Regions from separate parts of the Homo sapiens genome. Here region 1 is linked to region 2. Evidence: promoter capture Hi-C in human tissues and cell types (Jung and others, 2019). All regions are on one chromosome and are shown on one strand. The core of a region is centred on a gene start or on the middle of the fragment in contact, and the rest is flanking DNA. Distances in the headings are between cores, read along the strand shown. Region 1 has its middle 12 kb from the start of EFNA1. Region 2 holds the start of THBS3 (thrombospondin 3).

What was found. Contacts are between HindIII fragments. The study calls those that stand out against the background at their distance.
Region 1: a contact is called between a fragment that was not itself captured here and the fragment with the promoter of THBS3 in region 2, in 3 of the 25 tissues and cell types used here (IMR-90 fibroblasts, lymphoblastoid cells and thymus).

What each region holds. Positions count from the first base shown.
Region 1 is chr1:155,112,302-155,119,181 of GRCh38, forward strand. No RefSeq gene overlaps it. Among named protein-coding and RNA genes, the nearest start is that of EFNA1, 12 kb to the right of the region's middle. The HindIII fragment of the contact is 7,406 bases long and covers 1-6,569 here.
Region 2 is chr1:155,203,937-155,211,239 of GRCh38, forward strand. THBS3 (thrombospondin 3) reads right to left here and starts at 3,961. Exons shown (of 23, transcript NM_007112.5): 1 at 3,862-3,961; 2 at 2,264-2,470; 3 at 1,124-1,380; 4 at 919-1,021. The coding sequence starts at 3,940. It overlaps MTX1 (metaxin 1), which reads left to right and starts at 4,759. Exons shown (of 8, transcript NM_002455.5): 1 at 4,759-5,396; 2 at 6,410-6,479; 3 at 6,612-6,691. The coding sequence starts at 4,869. It overlaps THBS3-AS1 (THBS3 antisense RNA 1), which reads left to right. Exons shown (of 6, transcript NR_183238.1): 6 at 1,099-1,553. RefSeq lists an enhancer at 2,962-3,745 and a silencer at 5,109-5,308. The HindIII fragment of the contact is 12,638 bases long and covers 1-5,313 here.

The DNA.
Region 1 (6,880 bases), core at 1,617-4,116, 93 kb before region 2:
GCTTGGCCCAAGCTTTCTGCAGAAGGACTCGCCTGGGCTGCTGTCCCAGGAGGGGCCATGGCAGGCCATCTATGGGGAGTGTGATGGCTGTGTGCACACTGGAGTCGGAAATTGCCACAGCCAGGAGGAACACCTCACAGGAGCGTGGCTGCCTGCGGGAGGGGCTGAGGAAGCTCCCAAATGGCTCTGTGGCAAAGCCCTCATCCTCAGAGGACTAGAAATCCCGCTGCAGGCCGGGCGGGGTGGCTCATGCCTGTAATCCCAGCACTTTGGGAGGCCAAGGCGGGTGGATCACGAGGTCAGGGGATCGAGACCATCCTGGCTAACATGGTGAAACCCCGTCTCTACTAAAAATACAAAAAATTAGCCGGGCGTGGTGGGGGGCGCCTGTAATCCCAGCTACTCGGGCGGCTGAGGCAGGAGAATGGCCTGAATCTTGGAGGCGGAGCTTGCAGTGAGCTGAGATGGCACCACTGCACTCAAGCCTGGGCAACAGAGGGAGACTCTGTCTCAAAAAAAAAAGAAAAAAGAAAAAAAAAAGAAATCCCGCTGCAGCATAGCATGGCAGCAAGTGTGCAGATCCATCCTCAGTCCAGCCCCAGGGAAGCCTGTCAGGGCCCTGTGGATAGAGGTGACTGTGAATGAAAATTAAAGATGAATCTAAAAATCAGATGATTAAAAAAAAATTGGGCCAGGTGAAGTGGCTCATGCCTGTAATTCCAGCACTTTGGGAGGCCAAGGTGGGTGGATCACTTGAGGTCAGGAGTTCGAGACCATCCTGGCCAAGATGGTGAAACCCTGGCACTACTAAAATACAAAAAATTGGCCGTGTGCAGTGGCTCACACCTGTAATCCCAACACTTTGGGAGGCTGAGGCAGGCAGATCACGAGGTCAGGAGATCAAGACCATCCTGGCTAACATGGTGAAATCCCGTCTCTACTAAAAGCACAAAAAATTTGCTGGGTGTGGTGGTGTGCGCCTGTCGTCCTAGCTACTCAGGAGGCTGAGGCAGGAGAATTGCTTGAACCCAGGAGGCGGAGGTTGCAGTGAGCCGAGATCACGCCACTGCACTCCATCCTGGCAACAGAGCAAGATTCCATCACAAAAAACAAACAACAACAACAAAAAACAAGCAAACAAACAAAAACAACAACAAAAAAAACACAAAAATTAGCCAGGCATGGTAGCATGCGCCTGTAATCCCATATACTCAGGAGGCTGAGGCAAGAGAATCACTTGAACCCGGGAGGCAGACTATGCAGCAAGCCAAGATTTCACCACTGCACTCCAGCCTGGGTGACAGTGAGAGTCCGTCTTAAAAAGAAAAAAAAAATCGAAGAACAGACATGCCAATCTGTAACACATGAAAGCACAAGCCGCCTTTCTTGGGAACCCCCAACAGAGGTGACAAGGGAGAGGAGAGATTTCCAGTGCCCCAACCCCCACCAGCAGGAAAACACTGAGCCCTCCAGAACAGCTGCAGCACTCAGCCAGCCCAAACATGTTTCTGAGCCCATGTGAAATGCCCTAGGGGGACCATCAGTGATATTTCAGAGGGACTTTGCAAGGGGCTGGAGGTCCTATGTCAGCAAGCAGAAGCAGGAGCCAGTTGGCTTAAAACTTGTTACTGTCACTGTGAGCCTTCTACAATAAAAATCCTAATAATTGCTGTCATAATACTAATCCTGGCTGGGCATGGTGGCTCACACCTGTAATTTCAGCACTTTGGGAGGCCGAGATGGGTGGATCACAAGGTCAGGAATTCAAGACCAACCTGACCAACATGGTGAAACCCCGTCTCTACTAAAAATACAAAAATTAGCCAGGCGTGGTGGTGCATGCCTGTAATCCCAGCTACTCAGGAGACTGAGGCAGGAGAAACACTTGAACCCAGGAGGTGGAGGTTGCAGTGAGCCAAGATTGCAGTATTGCACTCCAGCCTGGGTGACAGAGCAAGACTCCATTTCAAAAAAGAAAAAAATAATAACAATATTAATATTAATCCTGAGGTTTTTCTATATGCCAAACAGGCCAGCCGTTCTAAGTACTTTACATACATTATCTCATTTCATCCTCATCATGATCCAAAGGGTGGGCACTATTATTATCATCCTTATTTCATAAATTAGGAAACAGGCACAGATGTGATTGGCCCAGGGTCATATCCAAATAAGTGATGGAGCTGGGATTCAAATCTTTGCAATCTCTCTCCAAAGCCCAAACTTTTTTTTTTTTTCTTTTTAAAGACAGGCTCTTGAGGCCAGGTGCAGTGGCTCACATCTGTAATCCCAGCATTTTGGGAGGCTGAGGCGGGTGGATCACTTGAAATCAGGTGTTCGAGACCAGCATGGCCAGCAAGGTGAAACCCCATCTCTACTAAGAATACAAAAATTATATGGGCGTGGTGGCAGACGCCTGTAAACCCACCTACTTGGGAGGCTGAGGTAGGAGAATCACTTGAACCCGGGAAGTAGAGGTTGCAGTGAGCCGAGATCCCGCCACGGCACTCCAGCCTGAGCAACAAGAGCAAGACTCTGTCTCAAAAAAAAAAATAAATAAATAAAGACAGGGCCCTCACTCTGTTGCCCAGGCTGGAGTGCACTCAGACCCCTGGTCTCTAGTGGACCCTCCCGCCTCAGCCTCCTGAGTACTAAGCTTTTCACCTAGGTGAGGCCTGGGGAAGTGGCAGTTAATCTGGGCATAGACTCTCATGAATTCTTTCCTCTTTATCAACAACTGGGCCTGGGTTTCCCCATCCCTTAAAAACATCCTTCCCTCCTTTCTGCAACCTCAAGCTACCAGGCTCTTCTAGTTAAATCTGCCTGTTTGCTTGCCCAGCTTCCATTCCCCTCAATTTTTTTGGAGATTCCCGTTTATCCTGTCTTAGACTACATTCCCTTTCCCAAACCAATCCCTGTGGCCTGGGGCTGCTGTGCTGGGACTGGCCAGTCTCAGGATATTGCCCGCTACGGCACCTGGGAGATGGGGTGATCCCACTCAAACCATAAACAAGCCAAGGAAATCAGGAGCAGACCTGTGTTTTGAAGAAATGACAAGGAGCTCTATTTCAGCAAGTTAAATTTAAAGTGCTCACACCTGTAATCCCAGCACTTTGGGAGGCCGAGGTGGGCAGATCACTTAAGGTCAGGGGTTCGAGACCACCCTGGCCAACATGGTGAAAAATGGATTGAGAAGTTGTAAATTAGAGCCTGGGAATAGTGCTTTGAGATAGAGAAGTGGAGAGAGAACATGGGATTGGGATTTAAGGCCCTGGAATTGTCATGTGTGAGGATGAAGAACTGGCTTGCAAATGCAATGCCTGCAGGGAGGCCAAGTGTATTTGTCAGGGAGGCAAAATATAGTCTTCGACTGCCATCTCATCACCTCAGTCATCCCAGAAGAAAGAGAACAGCTCTATAGGCCGGGTATGGTGGCTCACACCTGTAATCCCAGTACACTGGGAGGCTGAGACAGGTGGATCACTTAAGGTCAGGAGTTCGAGACCAGCCTGGCCAACATGAGGAAAACCCGTCTCTACTAAAAATACGAAAATTAGGTGGGTGGTGGTGGCGTGCACCTGCAGTCAAAGCTACTCAAGAGGCTGAGGGAAAGGCTCACTTGAACCAGGAGGTCGAGGCTGTAGTGAGCTATGATGGTGCCACTGCACTCCAGCCTGGGCGACAAAGTGAGATCCTATCTCAAAAAAATAAAATAAAATAAAATAAAATAAAGATAATAATTCTACCTACCTCTTATGGTGACTGTGAAGATTAAGTGCATTAATGTACACAAAGTGCTTCAAATGAGCCTGGAATAAGGAACATGTTCTATAAACATGAGCTGATGCTGTGACTATTCCCAGGGCAACTTCCCAATTAAATACAACCCCCTCAGCTTGCTTCTGAAGCCAACCTGGGTTTGCCCAAGAGCCCTTCTCCAGCCCAATCTGGTATGCCCTCAGCCCATTTAAAACCAATTTCCTGATAAGCCCAGTCTCCAAAGGACCTCCCCTAGGACGCCCAACACCTCCCCAGACATGGGGATTTGTGCCAGGAGAGGAGCTCTTTTTTGAGTGCCACAGTGCGGTGTGCCACCCCCAAGGAATTTACTGCTTTCCACCTGGCATTCCAGCTATCTGTTTTCTCCTGCCCTACCTCTCTGGGTGGTTCCTGGCCTCCTCCCTATTCCCCCTGCCCAAACTCTGTCTCTTCAGTGCTTTTTGTACCCTCCCCCCACCATTACTTAATCAAGTCCTACTCCTGTTTAAGACGAAACTCAGACCAAACAGTGCCCGGCCAAGGTTGGAGGACTTGATGATGCCAGAGCCAAGAGGAAGAAGGAGAGCAGGGGAGGGTGGGGGAGACTACAGTGGAGCCAGGGGAGGAAAAAGGACCAGGAAGGAGGGAAGAAGGAGCTCTGGGGGACAGATCTTCCCTGTCACCTTCCCCTCGCCCATGCAGGGGCAGGGCAGTGTGGCCCATAGGATTCCTTTGGGCATGGAATGCCCTTGCCCACCAACCTCACCCGAGAACCCTCAAAAGTCACTTCCCCCACTCATCACTCTGCCCTCACAGAACCTCAGCACTCTTGGCCACCTCATCCTAGGGCATTTACCACATACCCATCCCATTCGTGATCCTGGGACTCCTCCCCACTTCCCTGTATCCTTACCCTCACTATCAGCACGTTTGCCCCCTTCTGCCTGTGCGGGAACCATGCGAGGGGAAATTCACCCCGTGCTTATGCACAACCCACTCCCCAGGCTAAGTGCCAGGCCCGCACATCTATTATTTCATTCGATCCCTGCAATAATTGCATGGAGGCCAGGCGCAATGGCTCACGCCTGTAATCCCAGCACTTTGGGAGGCTGAGTCGGGCGGGTCACGAGGTCAGGAGATCGAGACCATCCTGGCTAACACAGTGAAACCCCATCTCTACTAAAAATACAAAAAAAAAAAAAAAATTAGCTGGGCATTGTGGCGGGCACCTGTAGTCCCAGCTGCTTGGGAGGCAGAGGCAAGAGAATGGCATGAACCCTGGAGGCAGAGCTTACAGTGAGCCGAGATCACACCACTGCACTCCAGCCTGGGTGACAGTCAGACTCTGTCTCAAAAAAAAAAAAAAAAAAAATTAATGGGGCGTGGTGGCAGGCATCTGTAATCCCAGCTACTCCGGAGGCTGAGGCAGGAGAATCACTTGAACCCGGGAGGCGGAGGTTGCGGTGAGCTGAGATCGCGCCATTGCACTCCAGCCTGGGCAATAAGAGTAAAACTCCATCTCAAAGTAAATAAATTAATAATAATAATAATAATAATAATAATAATAATAATAATAATTGCATAGAGAAAGTAGTCTTGACCCCATTTTATGATGAAGAAAAGGTGAGGCTCAGAGAGGTTAGGTAACTTTCCCAAGTTTCCACAGCTGGGCCCCCGACCCCACCCCTCTCTGCACTGTCTCCCTGTTCACCAGCTGCCTTTATTGGATGTGGCTTGCGGCACTTAGGCAGAGCACCTGTTATACAAACAAATGAGCTGTCCATTATCTGGCCATCTCCCACCTGCCTGCAGGGACGGGCCAGGGTGAGCTTAAGCCCTGGGGGACTGCATCTCAGAGCCTGTCCCACAAACCGCCTCAGGTTCCCTCTGAGACTGTCCCACACCCAGCCCCCTCTCTAGCTCTTTCCTTTACCTTCTCTACTGACTCCCCCCATTTGCTCCCAGCAGATACAGATATAGCACTTGGTGCCATATCTCCTTTATCCCCAGGAGAGCCAGGCAAGTGGGGCGTAGAAGGAATAGCATGGTGTAGATCCAAGCCCCATCAAATGTACCCCACCTGAGTTCTTTTTTTTTTTTGAGACTGAGTCTTGCTCTGTCGCCCAGGTTGGAGTGCAGTGGTGCAATCTTGGCTCACTGCAACCTCCACCTCCCGGGTTCAAGCCATATTCTCCTGACTCAGCCTCCTGAGTAGTAGCTGGGACCACAGACACGCGCCACCACGCCCAACTAATTTTTGTATTTTTAGTAGAGCTGGGGTTTCACTATGTTGGCCAGGTTGGTCTGAAACTCCTGACCTCAGGTGATCTGCCCACCCGGCCTCCTAAAGTGCTAGGATTACAGGAGTGAACCACCTCACCTGGCCTTTTTTTTTTTTTTTTTTTTTTTGAGTTTTGAGAGAGGGTCTCGCTCTGTTGCCCAGGCTGGAGCACAGTGATGCCATCTCGGTTCACTGTAGCCTCTACTTCCTGGGCTTGCCCCTGTTGGCCTGTGCGGGAACCATGCGAGGGGAAATGCACACTGAGAGTGAGAGTGAGACTCAGTCTCCAAGAAAAAAAAAAAAAAGAGAGAGAGAGAGAGAGATGGGGTTTCACCACATTACCCAGGCTGGTCTCGAATTCCTGAACTCAAGTTTGCCCACGTCAGCCTCCCAACGTGCCGGGATTGCAGGCATGAGCCACTGCGCCTGGCTCCCCATCTGAGTTCTGAATACCATCACCTTTCGGAGCCTTAGTTTTTTCACCTGGTCAGTGGGGACATAATTCCTGCCTTTGCCCACCTCGCAATGTGTAGGAGTCTATAAAAAGGAAATAGTATGTGATAAAATGTACAACTGAAAACACTGGACTGTAATAAAATGTTACACAAATGTAAGGGATTCCAAGTTGGTTGTAACATAGGCATTAAACTATAACTTCTCAAAGATATTGACCATAAAACTTACAGAGCCATGGGAAAAGAATAAAGAAATGTGCATGTTCCTGAGCCTTAACTTCTATGGGTGATTTTTTTCTCTCTGCATTTGTGTTTCTCTACGTTTTCTGCACTAATCATGTATTCCTTCTGGAATTAGAAAAAAAAAGGCAGAGCACAGTGGTTC
Region 2 (7,303 bases), core at 2,711-5,210:
AAGCAACTCTCCTGCCTCCGCCTCCCAAGTAGCTGGGACTACAGGTGCCCACCACCATGCCCAGCTAATTTTTTGTATTTTTTAGTAGAGAGGAGGTTTCACAGTGTTGGCCAGGCTGGTCTTGAACTCCGGACCTTGAGGGATCAGCCCACCTCAGCCTCCCAAAGTGCTGGGATTACAGGTGTGAGCCACCACACCCGCCATCCCATTCCCTTCTTCAAGAGCTCTCCCTCAAATATCTGGGAAAGGTGGGTCTTTTATTTAGGTGAGAGCTTCTGAACATCCCTGTCAGAGAGACCAGGCAGATGGGCAACACTCAGAGAAATTGCTGGTGACAGCTGCCAGTGAGAACTATAAAAGACTCGAGACCAGGCCGGGCGCGGTGGCTTACGCCTGTAATCCCAGCACTTTGAGAGGCCGAGGTGGGTGCATCACTTGAGATTAGGTGTTTGAGACCAGCCTGGCCAACGTGGTGAAATCCCATCTCTACTAAAAATGCAAAAATTAGCTAGGCATGGTGGAGGGCGCCTGTAATCCCAGCTGCTTGGGAGGCTGAGGCAGGAGAATCACTTGAACTCAGTGGAGACTGCAGTGACCCAGATTGCACCACTGCACTCCGGCCTGGGCAACAGGACAAGACTCCATCACCAAAAAAAAAAAAAATACTCGAGACCAGTATCTCTTGGTCAGCCAAGGCCAAGCAATTAACCAATTCTTCTCTTAGATCACTTTTTTTCTCGGATGGGTGTATTGGAGATTGTGGAGTCAGGTGAAAGATTTGGAATAACAGGGTTAGAAACCCTAGGAACAGGTGAGCCAAAGGAATGGGTTTTAAGGGAGAGGGAGATCAAGAAGACAGGAGTCACCAAAGGCCACAGGATCCGTGGTCCAATGTCAGCAAACAAGTCTCTGTGTTACCTGCACTGTGGATGGACTCGTCCCCTTGGAATGGACACTCACTCAGGGCTCCTACCCGGGCCATGGACCCACCCAGAATAATTTTCATAGATTCCACAAAGCCCTGGGGGGATAGCAGCAGAGTAAGGTGGGAAGGTCTACCAACCCCTTCCCCAGCTGGTGCAAACTCTATTTCCACAGAACTCAGAGGCTCCTCCCGGCTCACCTGCATCCTCAAATACGCCTTCTGTCCAGTCCTAATCTCCAGCCCATCGACCTCCGCTGGAGGAATGGGGGCCAGTGCTGGAAGGCCTGCATGTTGGTCACCCAGTTTGCAGTCCACGTAGAGATGTAGGGCAGGGCTGGGTCTGGAGGGACCTCGGAGTCGCAGGAGAACTGTGTGTGTGCGCCCATCAGCCAGGCCCGCTTGCTGTAGGTTCACGGCGTGGACTTTGCCATCCTCCCGCTGGTATCGCACCAGTACTGCCCAGGAGGGGAGATCAGTATGGGCGCTATCCCCCACCCCCTGCCTCCCAGCTGAGCCTTGGATCAACTCTGCTAGATACCACATCTCTAGGGCCCCTATCCCTAATTCTACTATGTGGCTCTCAACACCTTGTATTTAATAGGTACACAATAAATGTTTTTGAAATTGCTTTAGAGGCCAGGCACGGTGGCTCACACCTGTAATCCCAGCACTTTAGAAGGCCAAGGTGGGCAGATCACTTGAGGTCAGAAGTTCGAGAACAGCCTGGTCAACATGGCGAAACCCTGTTTCTACTAAAAATACAAAAGTTAGCCAGGCATGGTGGTGGGCACCTGTAGTCCCAGCTACTCAGGAGGCTGAGATAGGAGAATTGCTTGAACCCAGGAGGCAGAGGTTGCAGTGAGCTGAGATTGTACCACTGCACTCCAGCCTAGGTGACAAAGCAAGACTCCATTTAAAAAAATAATTGGTTTAGAGACAAATACTTTCTTAGTCTTCATTGGTATCAGATGACTGTATCCTCTCCTAGGGTGACAGCTGGTTTTGTGGCCACTGACCTGTTCCAGGGATCTGAAAGACCTTTCTGTATCACCGCTGAGGCACAGAGACATGCCTCACCCTCCTTCCAGGCATCCCCAAGTACAACCTCCCATCCCTATAAATATCAGGACTCAAGCCTCACCCTATTGTTTGGTACATGGGCTCCTAAAGCACCTTATAAGCACCCCATACCAGGTGCCCCTGATGTCTGGGCACAGCCTGATGGGACCTTGGTCCCTAGTGGAGGCCAAGGAGAATGAGGAAGCACTTGGGAAGTAGGGATGAGGGAGAGTGCTTAAGGAGGTCACCATTGCAAGAAAGGAGATGCCCACCAGTCACCTTTGTTGATCTTGCCTACAACAGAGGCCTCCAGCCATCGAGTGTTGTCTTGGCGAGAATAGAGGCCAAAGAGGACACCACCCTGCTTGGGGGGCAGGCGGAAGGTGGATAAGAGGTAGATGTCCCCAGCAGTGAGCAAGGCTGTCCGGATCTTCTCTGCCACAGCTACCATCTGCCGAGACTCGCCCACAGTCAGCAGGTCAATTACTGGTCAGGCAGGGGTTATCAAGGTTAGAGAATGGGATCAAATGCTAAGGTATGCCCTCCCCCGAGCCCACATCACCCCCTACCCCCACCACCAGGCAGCGTTAGTCACCTCAAAATTCAACCCTTGGCTGGGCATGGTGGCTCGCACCTGTAATCCCAACACCTTGGGAGGTTGAGGCAGGTGGATCGCCTAAGGTCAGGAGTTCGAGACCAGCCTGGCCAACACGGTGAAACCCCGTGTCTACTAAAAATACAAAAACAACAACAAAAAAGAAAAAAAAACCACCTAGCCGGGCGTGGTGGCGGGCACCTGTAATCCCAGCTACTCAGGAGGCTGAGGCAGGAGACTCGCTTGAACCTGAGAGGTGGAGGTTGCAGTGAGCCGAGATCGCGCCATTGCACTCCAGCCTGGGCAACAAGAGTGAAACTCCATCTCAAAAAGACAAAACGAAAACAAAAAAAAACCTCAACCCTTGTTGCTCTCAGAGGACAGAGGCACTGTGCCTTCCTTTCCCCATTATTGCCTATTACTACCTTCCAGGAACCTGCAGGTTTGAGACTCACTTGGAAACACAGAAACAGCACCCCACAAATTTGAGATGCCCCCACCAGGTGGCGCAAAGGAGATGCTGTGCTGATCCCCCACAGGAGTGGCACCTGGTGTCCACAACGTAGAAATGGAAGGCAGCTTCTCTTTCCACTCCTGGGTTTGGCTCGTTCCACACCCTAGTTCCCCTCCTCCCATCCTAGGGGCGCAGCACACTCGCTCTGGATAAGAACAGCTGCCCACTGAGGACTCTAACCCTCCCACCATCTGGGCTATCTCCCACGGGAATGTAGGACCCAGCTCCTCTGCCTCCTGTGTCCTGGCCAATCTGTGGTTTTCCCTCCAGCCAGTAAAGAATCTATGCCTGTGTCATCTGCTCCAGCTACCTCTCCCACATCCATCGGCCCATCCCACCACCAGACCTCCGGGAGAGCCCAGGCTTCTTGGTCCCCACCCCCGCCCTGTCCTTGGGCAGCCAGGAGCCCAGGGGGACGAAGCCCAGGGACCTACAGTACGCCCACCTTCAGGCTGCTCTCCCAGACCCTAGGGTGCCTACAGATGCTCAGGAACCACCCCAGCCAGGCAGCCTGAGCATCCAGTTCCTGAGTCCTCTGCCCTGGCCTCATGCCTGACCCTGTCCTGTTCCAGCTCCCCCACTACTCTCCGGTGCCCACTCCTCTCCACCAGGCCATAATTTCACCAACTCTAGGCAGTCTTAAGTTTTCCTCTGGCTCAATTTCTGGACTCTTCCCCTCTCCCCTTGCCCACATGTTCTCTGCTACTTGGGCTGAGGGCAAATGGGGAAGAAGCAGAGAGCGGTCTAAGAGGATGGAGACAGGCTTACCCTGCAGATCCTGACTGGCAGATGTGAAAAAGCAAAGGAGGAGAAGAGCCAGGGCCCCCCGAAGTTCCTGCGTCTCCATGCCTCTCAGCCGGCTCACTACCCCTGGCAGGCAGGCAGCTGGGAGGGGAAAAGGCTAGGCGGAGAGAGCAGGAGCCGGGGGGCGGAGGGACAGAATTGGAGGGGGGGCCAGCAGGCGGGTGAGGGGGGGCTGAAACAAAGAGCTGCCAATCACCCTGGAGGCATCATCAGCTCTGGGAACCAGGGGCACTGGGAAAGAATCCTGGAGGCCTCCCTGCTTTCTACCTCTCCCTAATGATCCTCCCCCAGGTGCCTCCCTCTCCGCAGTCATCATTGTTGGGGGTCTCGGCACACAGCGCTACCGAATGCCACTGTTTTCTGGAAGCCACGATTGTGGAAGGCAAGAACCCCTGGCAGGGGCAGTGCTAGACAGTGGGCATTATTCCACAGCTGGCAGGAAAGGATGCCAAGGGAGTGGCCGCAACTAGCTTGCTATAGTGCCCAGGGATGCCCACATGGCATGAATTTTGCTGTTCTGGCGGAGCAAGTGCTCTTTATTAGGGTGGGGGGTCCCCTGACAAGTGCCTGTTTCTCCATTTTCCCTCATTCGTAGGAAAGCTTGGGAGTCTGGAAGCGTCTGACGGGAACTGAAGGGAGAATCTAAAGCAGTGGTCAGTGAGGTCAGAGTGAAGAAACCAAAAAAGAGGAAAGGGACACCAGGGACAGGCGCAGAAGACCAGGGGTACAGGCGAGGAGCCAAGGACCAGACTGTGGAACACTGTGGGTACTAGCGGACGGGCCGTGACCCGGATGAAGCAGAGGGGCGCCTGAGTTCCCGTCACCTAAGCGACAGCCTGCGAGCCTCTCTTCCCCTCCCCCACCCAAGCCCCAGCCCGGCCTCCGCTCCGGCCGCCGCCACCGCCCCTGTTTTGTTTCCATGGCGACAGGCGGCGCAGGGCCCGCTCCAAACATAACGCGCTGTGGAAAACATGCTGCTCGGGGGACCCCCCCGCAGTCCCCGCTCGGGGACGAGCCCCAAGGGGCCCTGGAGCAGTACAGGCCACGTGCAGTTTGGCAAGAGCCCCCAGACCTGGCCCAGGCGCACAAGACCCCGCTCTCCAGAGCCTGCCGCGCCTTCAGGGGTTCGGGGCTCCACTTGGACGAGGCGCCGTGACTCTCCGAGGCGCGCCGGGCCGACAGCGCTGTCCCGCTACGTGGGCCACCTCTGGATGGGCCGGCGGCCGCCCTCCCCCGAGGCCCGCGGCCCAGTCCCCCGCAGTTCAGCTGCCAGTCGGGCCAGAAGAAGCCTCGCCTCCCCGGGGATCTCCCCAGGCCCCCTGACCGCAACGATCGGAGGGGCGGTGGCGGGGGGCGGGCCCAGGCAGGGGAGGGCAGAAGCACACAAGGAAGTGTTTCCGGGACAGAGGGTGGGCAAGATGGCGGCGCCCATGGAGCTGTTCTGCTGGTCAGGGGGCTGGGGGCTGCCGTCAGTGGACCTGGACAGCCTGGCCGTGCTGGTGAGGGGTGGCGCCGGCGCCCTCTGCTGTGCCCTGATGACTGGGGAGGGGGCCGAACTAGCCAAGCATCCAAACCTTGCCAGGGCTACTCAGCACGGGCGCAGTGGGGGAAACTGAGGCAGTCAAAGAGCGTACGTGGCCGATATGGCCTCAGTGCCCTATGCTGTAGTTTTCTAGGCTTAATGCAGCAATGAAAAGACGCCTGGTTGGGAGTTCAGGTGATGGGTTCTAGTCCTTGCTCATCCATTCACTGGCTGTGTGACCTTGCGGAGATCCTTTCTCTTTGGGCATTTTTTTTCTCCATTCGGAGGTTTACTAGGCTGGACTGTCTCAGGGACCTACTCTAGCTTGGAATTCCTGCCTTCTCCTCAGCCCCCTTCTCCTCTTCCTCCTCACTTAACAGCATTTACTGAGGCTATTGTTTGTTAGACCAAACGACTCACAGCCAGGCTTTGTATAAAGAGCTTAGCAATCAGACTTCCTTTGCTTCATTTATTCATTGACTCCTTGCTTTAAAGAGGATCTATTAGATTTCTTCCAAATATTAAACATTGCCAGGCAAAGATGAATAAAATTTGGTTCCTCCCTTCGAGTTTACAGAAAGGCAGATAGGTAAGCAAATAAATATAATAAAATATTCACATATAAGTTAAAGTAGGAACAGACCACAGATACTGCCAAAGAGAAGGGCATTATCAGTGCTTCCAAGAAGAGGGATACTGGTTAGGAAAAGCTTCTGAGGATAGATGTTCACCAGGTAGATGGCAAGAGAGGAGATAGAGGAAAGGATTTTCCTGGCTGTCCTGTAATCACAGACATGTCCGGAATCTCTCTGAGCCCTGTGTTGTCCATTTGTAAAATAGAAATGGTAGTGACTCCCCCTTTTTTTTCGAGACTAAGATACTAAGTATAGGGAATGGCACATAAGGTATTCAATAAATGTTATTTCTCTTCTTGATACCACTGTGGGGGACATGGCTCTGCCTCTCTGACTTCTGCTTCCTTCCCTGCAGACCTATGCCAGATTTACTGGTGCTCCACTGAAGGTACACAAGATCAGCAACCCCTGGCAGAGCCCTTCAGGTACCCAGTATCCCTTGGGGGTAAGGAAGGGTGTGTACAAGGGGAGAAGCAAGAAATAGGCAGGAATGTGTTGCAACTATGTATGACTAGGCAGCTAAGGGTCTGGTTGGTATACTTCCCTCTCAATATCAGGAACTCTGCCTGCCCTTCGGACCAGTCATGGAGAGGTCATCTCAGTTCCACACAAGATCATCACCCACCTTCGAAAAGAGGTAGGTGACTTGGATAGAGGGGGCTGCCAGTGAGAGAAGTTCAGTCAATTCTATACAATACACATTTATTGAGCACCAGATATATGCCATGCTAGATGCAGGTGACCCAGAGCATCAAGGAGCAACAGTCTTGTGGCAGAGACACACACAATGTCACTGTGATGTATTAAAGCAGTCGGCAAGAGATGAAACTTAGGGCACTGTGAGGCAGGGAGGGAGAGGAGCACAGGCTGAAGGAGAGTGGAAGACAGCAGTTGGCCTCTGATGGTGGGACTGGAGAGAGATTTCTAAGGGCCACTTCCTGTTTTCAGGGACTAGGTTGGGCTAGATATGGGGCTCAGGATGGACAAGGCTTAGAGCCAGGTTGGAGAAGATGAAAGAGCATTACTAGAGGAGTGGGGAGGCCTAGGCTATGCTCTTTACTCTGCCATTGACTATGTGATCTCGGGCAGGCCATGTAACCTCTCAGGGCTGTGCACTCCCTTATTTGTAAAACTAGAGGGCTGGGCCAGCATGTTTTCCAAGGGTTCTTCTAGCATTGACGGTCAGGTTCCAAGAGGGAACAGTGTCAGAAGTAGGACACTCTTCCTCATTTCTAACTTCCCAAAGGTT